2 separate regions of the Homo sapiens genome follow, and region 2 is linked to region 1. The links are contacts of gene promoters, found by promoter capture Hi-C in human tissues and cell types (Jung and others, 2019). All regions are on one chromosome and are shown on one strand. Each heading gives the region's core, a stretch centred on a gene start or on the middle of the fragment in contact. The rest is flanking DNA. Distances are from core to core; before and after follow the strand shown. Region 1 holds the start of TXNDC2 (thioredoxin domain containing 2). Region 2 overlaps RALBP1 (ralA binding protein 1).

Region 1 (5,919 bases), core at 2,229-4,728:
ATCTCTGGGCTCAGAGGGAGTTGGGGCTGGGGCGGACTCACCCCTGGATGGTGGCTGTAGCAGAAGGTTATTAAAGCTAACAGTTTGGGTGGTGGTCTTCTAATTCCCTATCTTCCTGATATCCTGGAGGTTGTAATGATCCTGGCAAGCCTGTTCTGTATCATTGCTCAGTGTTCTGGGAATCATTCCGGGATACCTAGCCTAAACAGGCAGCCTCGCCAGCAGTTTTATAATTGCCCAAATAATCCTAGGCCTAAAATAGCTGGTTGTTTCTGTTTCCTGAGACACAACCTGAGTGACATAAGGGCTCATGAGCTATTTGGGAATGAGCTTCTGCTGAAGGAAAACATACATTTTATGACAAGTCAGTGGAAGAATTAATATTTCAAGTTGCTTGGAATTCATCTGAATTGCAGAAGGAAGAGTAAAAATATCAGGAACAAGTGCCAAACCTAAAACACAACGAAGATCTCCAAGTATAAATGTAACAGGATCACAGATTTCCTCTCTTTTACTAAGACATTCAGGTACAATATCACTTATACATTTCTCTAGAATGGCTCATCCTTCCCATGAGCCTTATCTCAATGGGTTTTGGGGTGGGATGGTGAGGAGCAGGGAAACCGAATTAAGTTTGCCTGTTTGTGGAATTTTGGCTCAAAGAACCCTTTTCCATGGTGTAGCGGTGCAATCTTTCAGAGTTCTCACTTTGTCCATAGTGTCTGGATGCCCAGGGCTACACGGATAAACGTGCCGGGTGCTCTGGTCCCGTGCTGGTTTCCCATGTGAATTGGCTGGTCTGGCCTGGTCCCCAGCCTGAGATCTCTTGAAGGACCCACTGATTCCATTTAGGACAGGGGCATCGTGATGTTACTCACTGCTGGAGTCTGTGATTCCAGTCCTTGCCTCTGGTCACAGATCCTCCTCCTCTGAGTCTTCTTCCTCTAGGCCTCTATCTTTCACCAGTCTCAGAGCACTCCCAGCCACTCTCTGAGGTGTACATCGTTGCTAGATCTTTAACCTCCTCCCTGCAGGCTGTGGGGCCTGCCCCAGGTCCACACATCCATTCTTACCCTCTACTAGGGGCCACGCTGCACGAGGACAGTGCTGTGTTGGATGTGAAGTCCACGTGGGCTCATCCTGGCCTTCCAAGTGGAGCAGGAGGCAGATGCCCCTCTGCTTTCAGCTGCAAGTCTTTTTTTATCTTTTTTTTTTTTCTTTTTTTGAGAGAGTCTTGCTCTGTTGCTCAGGCTAGAGTGCAGTGGCACCATCTCCGCTCACTGCAACCTCTGCTTCCCAGGTTCAAGCGATTCTCCTGCCTCAGCCTCCTGAGTAGCTGGGATTACAGACATTTGTCACCACATCCGGCTAACTTTCGTATTTTTAGTAGAGATCTAAAATCGCATTTTTAGTAGAGTAGCACATCTGATTAGTATCTGTGCTGGCAATCAACCTGGAGAAAGGAGGCCGGGACACAGGCATCTGTCCTCTTGCCTCCACATCTACTGGGATGGCAGGAGTGATGTTTTCACTTCTGCCTCTCAGCGATGGAGTTCCTCTGTGTCCTCATCCACTCCCTTCCAAACAGCAGGGACCCTGTACAAGATAGGGTCCCAGGAAGTAAATTAACTTACCAATGAGCAAGGGCCAAAGATGCTGCCCACTTTGTGCTAATAAAATCTGCTCATGATGGTTTCTGCAAATGATGCCTATCCTCCCCGCTTCACCTCCTTTCTCCTAACACTAAGAAAGAAGACATTGCCCAGATAAGTGCCTGACGTTTATTTTCATCCTCTGCTTTAAAATAGGGCACCATGAAAAACAGTCCTGTCAGCTGTGGAAGCCGTTGGCATTGGAGAGTGAAGACAACCTCCCGTCCTTTAAAATATCACATAAGAAAGGCCCAAAGTCTCCCAGTGAGAGAGGGAAGAGCTTTCTTTGGCAGTAACCGAGGAAACGGAGTGGAAGCATGAGCTCTTCCTGGAACAGGATTCATATCATCAAGAACTACGGATTTGCTGGGCCAGGCATGGTGGCTCACGCCTGTAATCCCAGCAATTTGGGAGGCTGAGGCAGGTGGATCGTTTGAGGTCAGGAGTTAGAGACCAGCCTTGCTAACATGGTGAAACCCTGTCTCGACTAAAAAAAATACAAAAATTAGCCGGGTGTGGTGGTGAATGCCTGTAATCCCAGCTACTCGAGAGGGTGAGGCAAGAGAATTGCTTGAACCTGGGAGATAGAGGTTGCAGTGAGTCGAGATTGTGCCACTGCACTCCAGCCTCGGTGACAGGGCAAGACTGTCTCAAAGAAAAAAAAAAAAGGAACTATGGATTTGCTAAGGCCAATAGTCTCTCTACCCCTTAGTAAAATGTGTTTTGGTATAAAAATCCAGATAATTGAACCATTGCCATTAGATGTTTCGAGGTTTCTATTGACAATGTGGAGGTCTTATCATTTAGATTTCAACACTTTTATTTTTAGTTTTTAGAGACGGGGCCTTGCTCTGTTGCCCAGGCTAGAGTACGATGTAGTGATCACGGCTCACTGCAGTCTTGAACTCACTGGCTCAAGCAAGCCTCCCACCTCAGCTTCCCAAGTAGCTGGGACAGGCGTGTGCCACTGTGCCTGGCTAGGTTTTGTATTTTTTGTAGAGATGGGGTCTTGCTATGTTGCCTAGGCTGATCTCAAACTCCTGGGCTCAAGAAATCCTCCCACCTTGGCCTCCCAAAGTACTGAGATCACGGTGTGAGCCACCATGCCTGACCACTTTCAACACTTATATTGTTGGGGTGAAACTGAAACATATGAGGATTTGTTCAAAGTACATGTAGAGAAGGCAAAATTCCACACTGATTCTTCCTGCCTTGGACTGGATGTGTTGTGCAGAGTGAGGGTGGAAAATGAGCCAGTGGTCCTGAACTAATAAAATAAGTCTCCCTGGGGGACAGGTATTTGGCTTCCCATTCCACAGGATGGGGTAGATGTGGCTTATGGAACCAGGATTATTCACAAAGAGGTTGTTCTCCTGTATGTAAAGGCTGGAAGAGCCGTGTACTTGGATGTGTCTGCATGGGGGAGGGCACAGGCTGGGCTGGTGCGCCTGGGAGGTGGGGGAGGTGGGGAAAGAGGCTGTCTAGCAGGAGCTGAACATTTGACATTGTGGGACACTTTGCAGAGGAGGCTAACATGGTTTCGAGGAGATACTTAGGAGCTGGTCACAATGGGTGAGTCGTAAAGAGAATGTTGGAGCTGGGGGATCCTGGAGAAAGATGATAAGATGGTTGATTCACAGAACCCAGGCTGGACGGGACTTGTGGCGAGCAGTCCAGCACAGCCTCACAGTGCAGAGCATGAGCTTTGGAGCCTGCCCCCACCCTAGCTTTGTGACCTTAAGTGAGCTACATAGCTTCTCATGTGTAAACTACTCATCATAATGGTTCTGACCTCAGTGGTTTGTTGTGTTCTAGGAAATGATGCCAGTGAATGCGTAGTCCCAGCCTCAGCACAGGGGAGCCACCTTGAAGCTCTCAAATATCACTGTTGTGAATACAGAGAGGGAAAACCAACTGTAACGTGCCACCCAAATGTAAGTTTTACTCATATTTTGATGTTAGGATGGATAGCTTGGAAAAAGTTGGAGGGTACGGCCTTTACTATGAGGCATCTATGAAGGATCAGGAATGGATGTAGACAAGGAACTAGGAATGGAAAGTGTTAAAGCTGGAGCCTCTGGAAAACCAGAAATGAGGCTGGGCACTCAGGAAGAAACAAGTGAAGGTGATGCTAATGGTAAGTAGGGGAGGAAAGAGGGTTGCCTTAAAGACCTATGCAGTTAGGGAGCGGGCAGGGTGTTGAACCAAGAAGGGAAAGTTGTAGCTTAAGAACATGTATACAGAAGATACGTGTAACCACACGCTGTTTGTCCTTCTGCTGAATGAGTTTTTCAGATTAATACATCATTCATCAGACTTCATTCGTGATCTCGAAGAGTGACATCAGTCTTCCTTGGAATATGAAGAGAATTTCTTTGGTTCTTCTTTTGCATTTCTATTTGATTTATTTTATTTTATTTTATTTTATGTTTTTTGGTACAGAAAGCTCATTACTAGTCCTGTCCAGCAACGTGCCTCTCCTGGCCCTAGAGTTCTTGGAAATAGCCCAGGCCAAAGAGAAGGCCTTTCTCCCCATGGTCAGCCACACGTTCCACATGCGCACAGAGGAGTCTGATGCCTCACAGGAGGGCGATGACCTACCCAAGTCCTCAGCAAACACCAGCCATCCCAAGCAGGATGACAGCCCCAAGTCCTCAGAAGAAACCATCCAGCCCAAGGAGGGTGACATCCCCAAGGCCCCAGAAGAAACCATCCAATCCAAGAAGGAGGACCTCCCCAAGTCCTCAGAAAAAGCCATCCAGCCCAAAGAGAGTAACATCCCCAAGTCCTCAGCAAAACCCATCCAGCCCAAGCTGGGCAATATTCCCAAGGCCTCAGTGAAGCCCAGCCAGCCCAAGGAGGGTGACATCCCCAAGGCCCCAGAAGAAACCATCCAATCCAAGAAGGAGGACCTCCCCAAGTCCTCAGAAGAAGCCATCCAGCCCAAAGAGGGTGACATCCCCAAGTCCTCAGCAAAACCCATCCAGCCCAAGCTGGGCAATATTGCCAAGACCTCAGTGAAGCCCAGCCAGCCCAAGGAGAGTGATATCCCCAAGTCCCCAGAAGAAACCATCCAGCCCAAGGAGGGTGACATCCCCAAGTCCTCAGCAAAGCCCATCCAGCCCAAGCTGGGCAATATTCCCAAGGCCTCAGTGAAGCCCAGCCAGCCCAAGGAGGGTGACATCTCCAAGTCCCCAGAAGAAGCCATCCAGCCCAAGGAGGGTGACCTCCCCAAGTCCCTAGAGGAAGCCATCCAGCCCAAGGAGGGTGACATCCCCAAGTCCCCAGAAGAAGCCATCCAGCCCAAGGAGGGTGACATCCCCAAGTCCCTAGAGGAAGCCATCCAGCCTAAGGAGGGTGACATCCCCAAGTCCCCAGAAGAAACCATCCAGCCCAAGAAGGGTGACATCCCCAAGTCCCCAGAAGAAGCCATCCAGCCCAAGGAGGGTGACATTCCCAAGTCTCCAAAACAAGCCATCCAGCCCAAGGAGGGTGACATTCCCAAGTCCCTAGAGGAAGCCATCCCACCCAAGGAGATTGACATCCCCAAGTCCCCAGAAGAAACCATCCAGCCCAAGGAGGATGACAGCCCCAAGTCCCTAGAAGAAGCCACCCCATCCAAGGAGGGTGACATCCTAAAGCCTGAAGAAGAAACAATGGAGTTCCCGGAGGGGGACAAGGTGAAAGTGATCCTGAGCAAGGAGGACTTTGAGGCATCACTGAAGGAGGCCGGGGAGAGGCTGGTGGCTGTGGACTTCTCGGCCACGTGGTGTGGGCCCTGCAGGACCATCAGACCATTCTTCCATGCCCTGTCTGTGAAGCATGAGGATGTGGTGTTCCTGGAGGTGGACGCTGACAACTGTGAGGAGGTGGTGAGAGAGTGCGCCATCATGTGTGTCCCAACCTTTCAGTTTTATAAAAAAGAAGAAAAGGTGGATGAACTTTGCGGCGCCCTTAAGGAAAAACTTGAAGCAGTCATTGCAGAATTAAAGTAAACATGTATTCTGAAAACATTGCAGACAGTCAGGTGTTTATAGCTTTTGAGTTCTCTTTTATTATTTACACAAAGTGATCAGGTATAACAAAAGTGTATGTCCAAATGGCACTGCTTGTACATGATAATATTAACTCTACCCTTTTCAAAAAACAGTCCAAGCATTAAAGTACATTGCGACTGTGTTTCTGTTAGTGGGAGAGTATAAAATTAGAAATTCCCATGGTGAAGACTGCTAAGTCCCATGGTTTCCTATTTTTCAATCTTGATATG
Region 2 (5,919 bases), core at 1,524-4,023, 370 kb before region 1:
GTCTGGTTCTCTTAATTTGTTGCTATTTTCATTAATTTGTTAATAACTCTTTGCTTTTTAAAGAAATTACCTCTCCCAATTTGCAACTTTTTTTTTTCCACATTTGCTTGTCCTTTGACTTTATTTATGGTCTCAGAATTGTCACTTATGGCTTGTGGATTTTTTAAATTGTAAAGTTAACATTTAAAGTGAGTGCAAAGAGAGGCCGGGCACGATGGCTCACACCTGTAATCCGAGCACTTTGGGAGGCCGAGGCGGGTGACTCACCTGAGGCCAGGAGTTCGAGACCAGCCTAACCAATATGGTGAAACCCTGTCTCTACTGAAAATACAAAAAATTAGCCGGGTGTGGTGGCAGGCACCTGTAATCCCAGCTACTCAGGAGGCTGAGGCGGGAGAATCACTTGAACCTGGGAGGCGGAGGTTGCAGTGAGCCGAGATTGCGCCATTGCATTCCAGCCTGGGCAACAAGAGCGAAATTCCATCTCTCAAAAAAAATAAAAAAAATAAATGAGCGCAAAGAGAAAAAGTGATTCTGATAGTATTTCAAATGAATATCATAATGACATTAAAGAGGAATAAGAATTAATCCAAGTAACTTTCAAACGCAGTACTTTGACTGTGTACCTACCATCCTAAAGAAGGGAGAAAATGCAAACAAATTTTGAACTCCTCTTACATTTGTCCTTTGTAGCATCTGTTGTAGTAAAACTATTTTGCATGTATTTTAGGATTGATTAAATGAGGGTTCCTTCATTTCTTTTAGCATAACTGCAGTACAAAAATATAGTTATTATCAATACATGAGCTGCATATAAAATTGCATGCATCGTAGAATCAGTGGTCTGTAATTATATGAATCATTAAATATATCATTTTAATTATAAAATTTAATTATGATGTGAACTGTTCATATGTAGTTATAAAGTCGTCTTTGTAACTTATTTATAGTTGTTTAGTCATAAAGCAAAATAGTAAGATTTTATGTTGGGGAGCAGTCAAAATGAAGCACTTTAGAATGATGAGTGGTTTTTTTTTTTTAAGGAATTCCATATTCTACTTTGAGAACTCTACCTCTGATTTTCATTTGATTTATTTTTTGAATACTCGAAGATCCCAGTGCTTTCAACCCTGAGAACTGAAATGTGTGATGCATGGAATATATCTCGAGACAATAAAATGAAAGAGTTTTTTACAAGGGGGTTTGTGGAGAAAATATTTTTGATTTGTAAATGCTGTGGTGTTTTTGTTCCTTGGTGTTAGGTGACTCTGCTAATGTTTTTTCTCTTGGTGCAGGTGTAATGGATAGGTAACAGAGAAGACCTCGTCCCTTCCTAGTCAGGGCATCAGCATGACTGAGTGCTTCCTGCCCCCCACCAGCAGCCCCAGTGAACACCGCAGGGTGGAGCATGGCAGCGGGCTTACCCGGACCCCCAGCTCTGAAGAGATCAGCCCTACTAAGTTTCCTGGATTGTACCGCACTGGCGAGCCCTCACCTCCCCATGACATCCTCCATGAGCCTCCTGATGTAGTGTCTGATGATGAGAAAGATCATGGGAAGAAAAAAGGGAAATTTAAGAAAAAGGAAAAGAGGAGTAAGTGCCATTTTTTCCTATGCCTAGATATTTTTATTTTATTTTATTTTACTTTATTTTATTATTATTTTTTGGGACAGAGTCTTGCTCTGTTGCCCAGGTTGGAGTGCAGTAGCACAATCTCAGCTCACTGCAACCTCCGCCTCGAGGTTCAAGCAATTCTCATGTCTTAGTCTCCCGAATAGCTGGGACTACAGGCGTGCGCCACCATGCCCAGCTAATTTTTGTGTTTTTAGTAGAGACAGGGTTTTGCCGTGTTGGCCAGGCTGGTCTTGAACTCCTGACCTTAAGTGATCTACCCACCTCGGCCTCCCACAGTGCTGGGATTACAGGCGTGAGCCACTATGCCTGTCCTAGATATATTTTAAATAAACTTCCACTCTAATTACATGTACCAGCTGTCTTCTGGAAACATGTGAAGGCAGAGATTCTTGTTTGACTTTTCTGTTCTTTATTTTTCAGGGTCTCAGTTTTTGTATATTAGAGTTGTATTTTGGGATCTTAATCTCACAAATAAAAATACTGAGTTTCCAGAAATGGAAAAGTTTTCTAGCGGATATTTCCTGAAGTAATAACTCAAAATGATGTCTAGAAAGATATTAAGCTGGCCACAGTGGCTTACGCCTATAATCCCAGCACTTTGGGAGGCTGAGATGGGAGGATTGCTTGAAGTCAGAAGTTCAAGAGCCTGAGAAACAAAAATTTAAACCATTAGCTGAGCATGGTGATGTGTGCCTGTAGTCACAGCCGCTTAGGAGCCTAGGAGATTGAGGCTGCAGTGAGCTATGCTTGCACCACTGTAGTCCAGCCTGGGTGACAGAGTGAGACTCTGTCCTCTCCTCCGCTGACGCCCCACCCAAAAAAAGGTAGATACTGGAATTTTCCCCTTAAGGCATCTTACTTTTCTTGGGTAGGTCGTGTTCGCTATTTGGGATACACTTTTTTGGAACCTTCAATAAAGTAGCTATTTATCTTAAGCAAATACCATGATACATTCCATTTGAGGTCCTATTCAGTAGGGAGGATGAATCATTTGAGCGTGGCTTTTTAGTATGTTAAAAGCAAATAAAGTGAGTTATGTTAAGTATTCCTTATTTTGAACTTCATGACATTTTAAATTGATTTGTTTTTGAAGAATTACACAGAGTACACAAATTGTATACAACTTGATGAGTGGGTATGCCTGTGTAACCACTACAAGGATCTGGAAATAGAGCATTATCAATTTTCTTTTGTGCCTCTTTAAAGGGAATCACCTACCCCTCCCATAAGTAAACTTCTTTTATTGTTGATTGATGCTGCCTGATTTTAAACTTACGCATACTTCTATTTGTGTCTAGCTTCTTTTACCCAATATTATATGTTAAAAGTAAAACTTTTAGACAAACTAAATTTAATGGGTTTTTTTTCTTTTGTGTTTTTATTTTGAGACAGAGTCTTGCTCTGTTGCTCAGGCTGTAGTGCAATAGTGTGATCACGGGTCACTGCAACCTCTGCCTCCCAGGTTCAAGTGATTCTCCTGCCTCAGCCTCCCAAGTAGCTGGGATTACAGGCACCCGCCACCATGCCTGGCTAATTTTTGTATTTTTAGTAGAGACAGGGTTTCACCATGTTGGTGAGGCTGGTCTCAAACTCTTGACCTCAAGTGATCTGCCCACCTCAGCCTCCCAAAGTGCTGGGATTACAGGTGTGAGCCACCCTGCCTTGCCAGTTTAACAGAGTTTAATTGAGCAAAGAACGATTAGGGAATCCAGTAGCCCCTAAACCAGAATAGATTTAGAGCGACTCTGGGGCTGCCACATGGTCACGTAATATTTATGGACGGAAAATGTAAAGTGACACACAGAAAACAGAAGTGAGGTACATAAACAGCTGGATTGGTTATAGCATGGCATTAGCCTTATTTGAGCAGTTTGAACAGTTGCCCCCCTGTGATTGGCCAAAACTCTGTAATTGGTACAAGAGTAGATTACAGTCTGTGTACACATCCAGTTAGGTTACAGTTCCCTATGTTCGGAGAAACCTTTAGGCCAAACTTAAAATACATGAGGAGGCAGCTTTAACCTAACATGTTTGTTAGATTGATTCATGTTATTCCATGTGGCAGTAATTTGTTCATCTTTGCACTAGATATTGTTTCATTGCATTATATGTTAGAGTTTATTAATCTCTTCTACTTTTGTTGCTTGTTTGGGTGGTTTTCAGTTTTTGACTGTTATGAATAGTGCTTCTGTGGTGTACATGTTTTTGTATTTCTGTTATGTTTATGCCTGGGAGTGGAATTGCTCATTTGTAGGCCATGTGTATTTCAGCTTCAGTAGATCCCTGCAAAACAGTCTTCCAGAATGCTTGTACCAGTTTACCTTCTCACCAGCAATGTATGAATATTCCACTTGCTAAAGCATCATGGTATTTTGTCCTTAAGATTCTTGCCATTCTGGTTGGTGTGGGGTACATGGTATTTTAGTTAGAGGGTAACTTAGGAAATAGCTGTTATCTTTTATATAATAGCTTGCAAGGTAGCTAGCTAAGGAAAAGAATTAGGAGAGTTACAGATATTAAAAAAAAAAACAACAAAACCAAACTATGACAACTCTGACATGGTTGGTAAAGCAATTGGGCACATTTGTCAGTGTGTGAAAAACCAGAGGTTTCTGATGCAGGGAAGTGGGCCCAGTGGATTTGGCCACCATCTAAAGATGAGGGAATTTCTCAGTTCAATCCTCTACTTAAAAGAGTCTGCAGTTCCTGCTGCAGTCTCCATAAAGAACTTAGCAGCTGGTGACAGGAGAGTGAAGTGTCATAGGAGAATAACTGAAACACATAAACAGTAGTGCAGTTCGTCATTCTCTGAGATTGCCTAAAGTTATAGGCTAGGCAGCACTTAGCTGGAAAAGCTAGGGTAGGTAAAGTGAACACAGGTTGAGTATCCCTATTCCGAAAATCCAAAATGCTACAAAATCTGAATCTTTTTGAGCACTGGCATGACACTTGGAGGAAATGCTCATTGGAGCATTTTGGATTTCAGATTTTTTGGGTTAGAGATGTTGAACTGGTATAATGCAAATATCCAGAAAAATCTGAAATTTGAAACACTTCTGGTCTCAAGTATTTCAGATAAGGGATACTCAACCCGTAGTATGTTAGAGGACACGACTCACGTGATGAAAGGATGCTCGGTCTACTTTAGAAAAGGATTCATTCCATTAGCCCTCTATGTAGAGCCTTTCAGGTGTATCTCTAATGTTTGGTTTGCCTGAATTCCACTTACACACATATGTAATATAAACCCTGTTTCCCCTCCTAATATTGTAAGGATGGTAACTGCTATCTATTTGTCCCCCTCTTGTGGTCAAGAGATGTCACTGCAACATCTCTTTTTGAGAAGAAACCCATTTCTTTGCTGGGAGTGCCCAGGAGGAATTGGCCAAGAAGTGAAAAGCTAGATTAGCTGGTGCCAGGTGGCACCGTTTTTTGGTTCTGTTTTTAGAAAGCATATGGACAGTTTGACATTAAACAAACATATAACTTATACTGTCTCTGTTTCTTTGGCAGCTGAAGGCTATGCAGCCTTTCAGGAAGATAGCTCTGGAGATGAGGCAGAAAGTCCTTCTAAAATGAAGAGGTCCAAGGGAATCCATGTTTTCAAGAAGCCCAGCTTTTCTAAAAAGAAGGAAAAGGATTTTAAAATAAAAGAGAAACCCAAAGAAGAAAAGCATAAAGAAGAAAAGCACAAAGAAGAAAAACATAAAGAGAAGAAGTCAAAAGACTTGACAGCAGCTGATGTTGTTAAACAGTGGAAGGAAAAGAAGAAAAAGAAAAAGCCAATTCAGGAGCCAGAGGTGCCTCAGATTGATGTTCCAAATCTCAAACCCATTTTTGGAATTCCTTTGGCTGATGCAGTAGAGAGGACCATGATGTATGATGGCATTCGGCTGCCAGCCGTTTTCCGTGAATGTATAGATTACGTAGAGAAGTATGGCATGAAGTGTGAAGGCATCTACAGAGTATCAGGTACTGGGAATGTGCACTTCACTTGATGGTTTTTAATAATAACTTCAGTTTCATTTTTCGAAGGAAGAAAAATTATTGTGAGGAAAATTTGGCCTGGATCCTAAGCCTTATTCATTTCCTTGATCCTACCAGTTGCACAAAAATCCACCCCTCTCCCCAGCCTTTCTTTGGTGTTCTGGCATTTGTTTTTTTAATATTTCCTTCCATTAGGAGGATTTCACGTTAGTTGTTCATAGCTTGCAGCAGCCAGGACTAAAACAAAGTGAAGTATACTGGCAGCATTGCTTAACAGGGCTGCATTCAGACCCTGC

The links. Contacts are between HindIII fragments. The study calls those that stand out against the background at their distance.
Region 2: a contact is called between a fragment that was not itself captured here and the fragment with the promoter of TXNDC2 in region 1, in 1 of the 25 tissues and cell types used here (mesenchymal stem cells).

What each region holds. Positions count from the first base shown.
Region 1 is chr18:9,882,495-9,888,413 of GRCh38, forward strand. It overlaps TXNDC2 (thioredoxin domain containing 2), which reads left to right and starts at 3,479. Exons shown (of 2, transcript NM_032243.6): 1 at 3,479-3,586; 2 at 4,095-5,919. The coding sequence starts at 4,187. The coding sequence ends at 5,647. The HindIII fragment of the contact is 24,551 bases long and covers 1-5,919 here.
Region 2 is chr18:9,511,696-9,517,614 of GRCh38, forward strand. It overlaps RALBP1 (ralA binding protein 1), which reads left to right. Exons shown (of 10, transcript NM_006788.4): 2 at 1,296-1,594; 3 at 5,150-5,608. The coding sequence starts at 1,351. Among named protein-coding and RNA genes, the nearest start is that of RALBP1, 39 kb to the left of the region's middle. The HindIII fragment of the contact is 7,271 bases long and covers 1-5,919 here.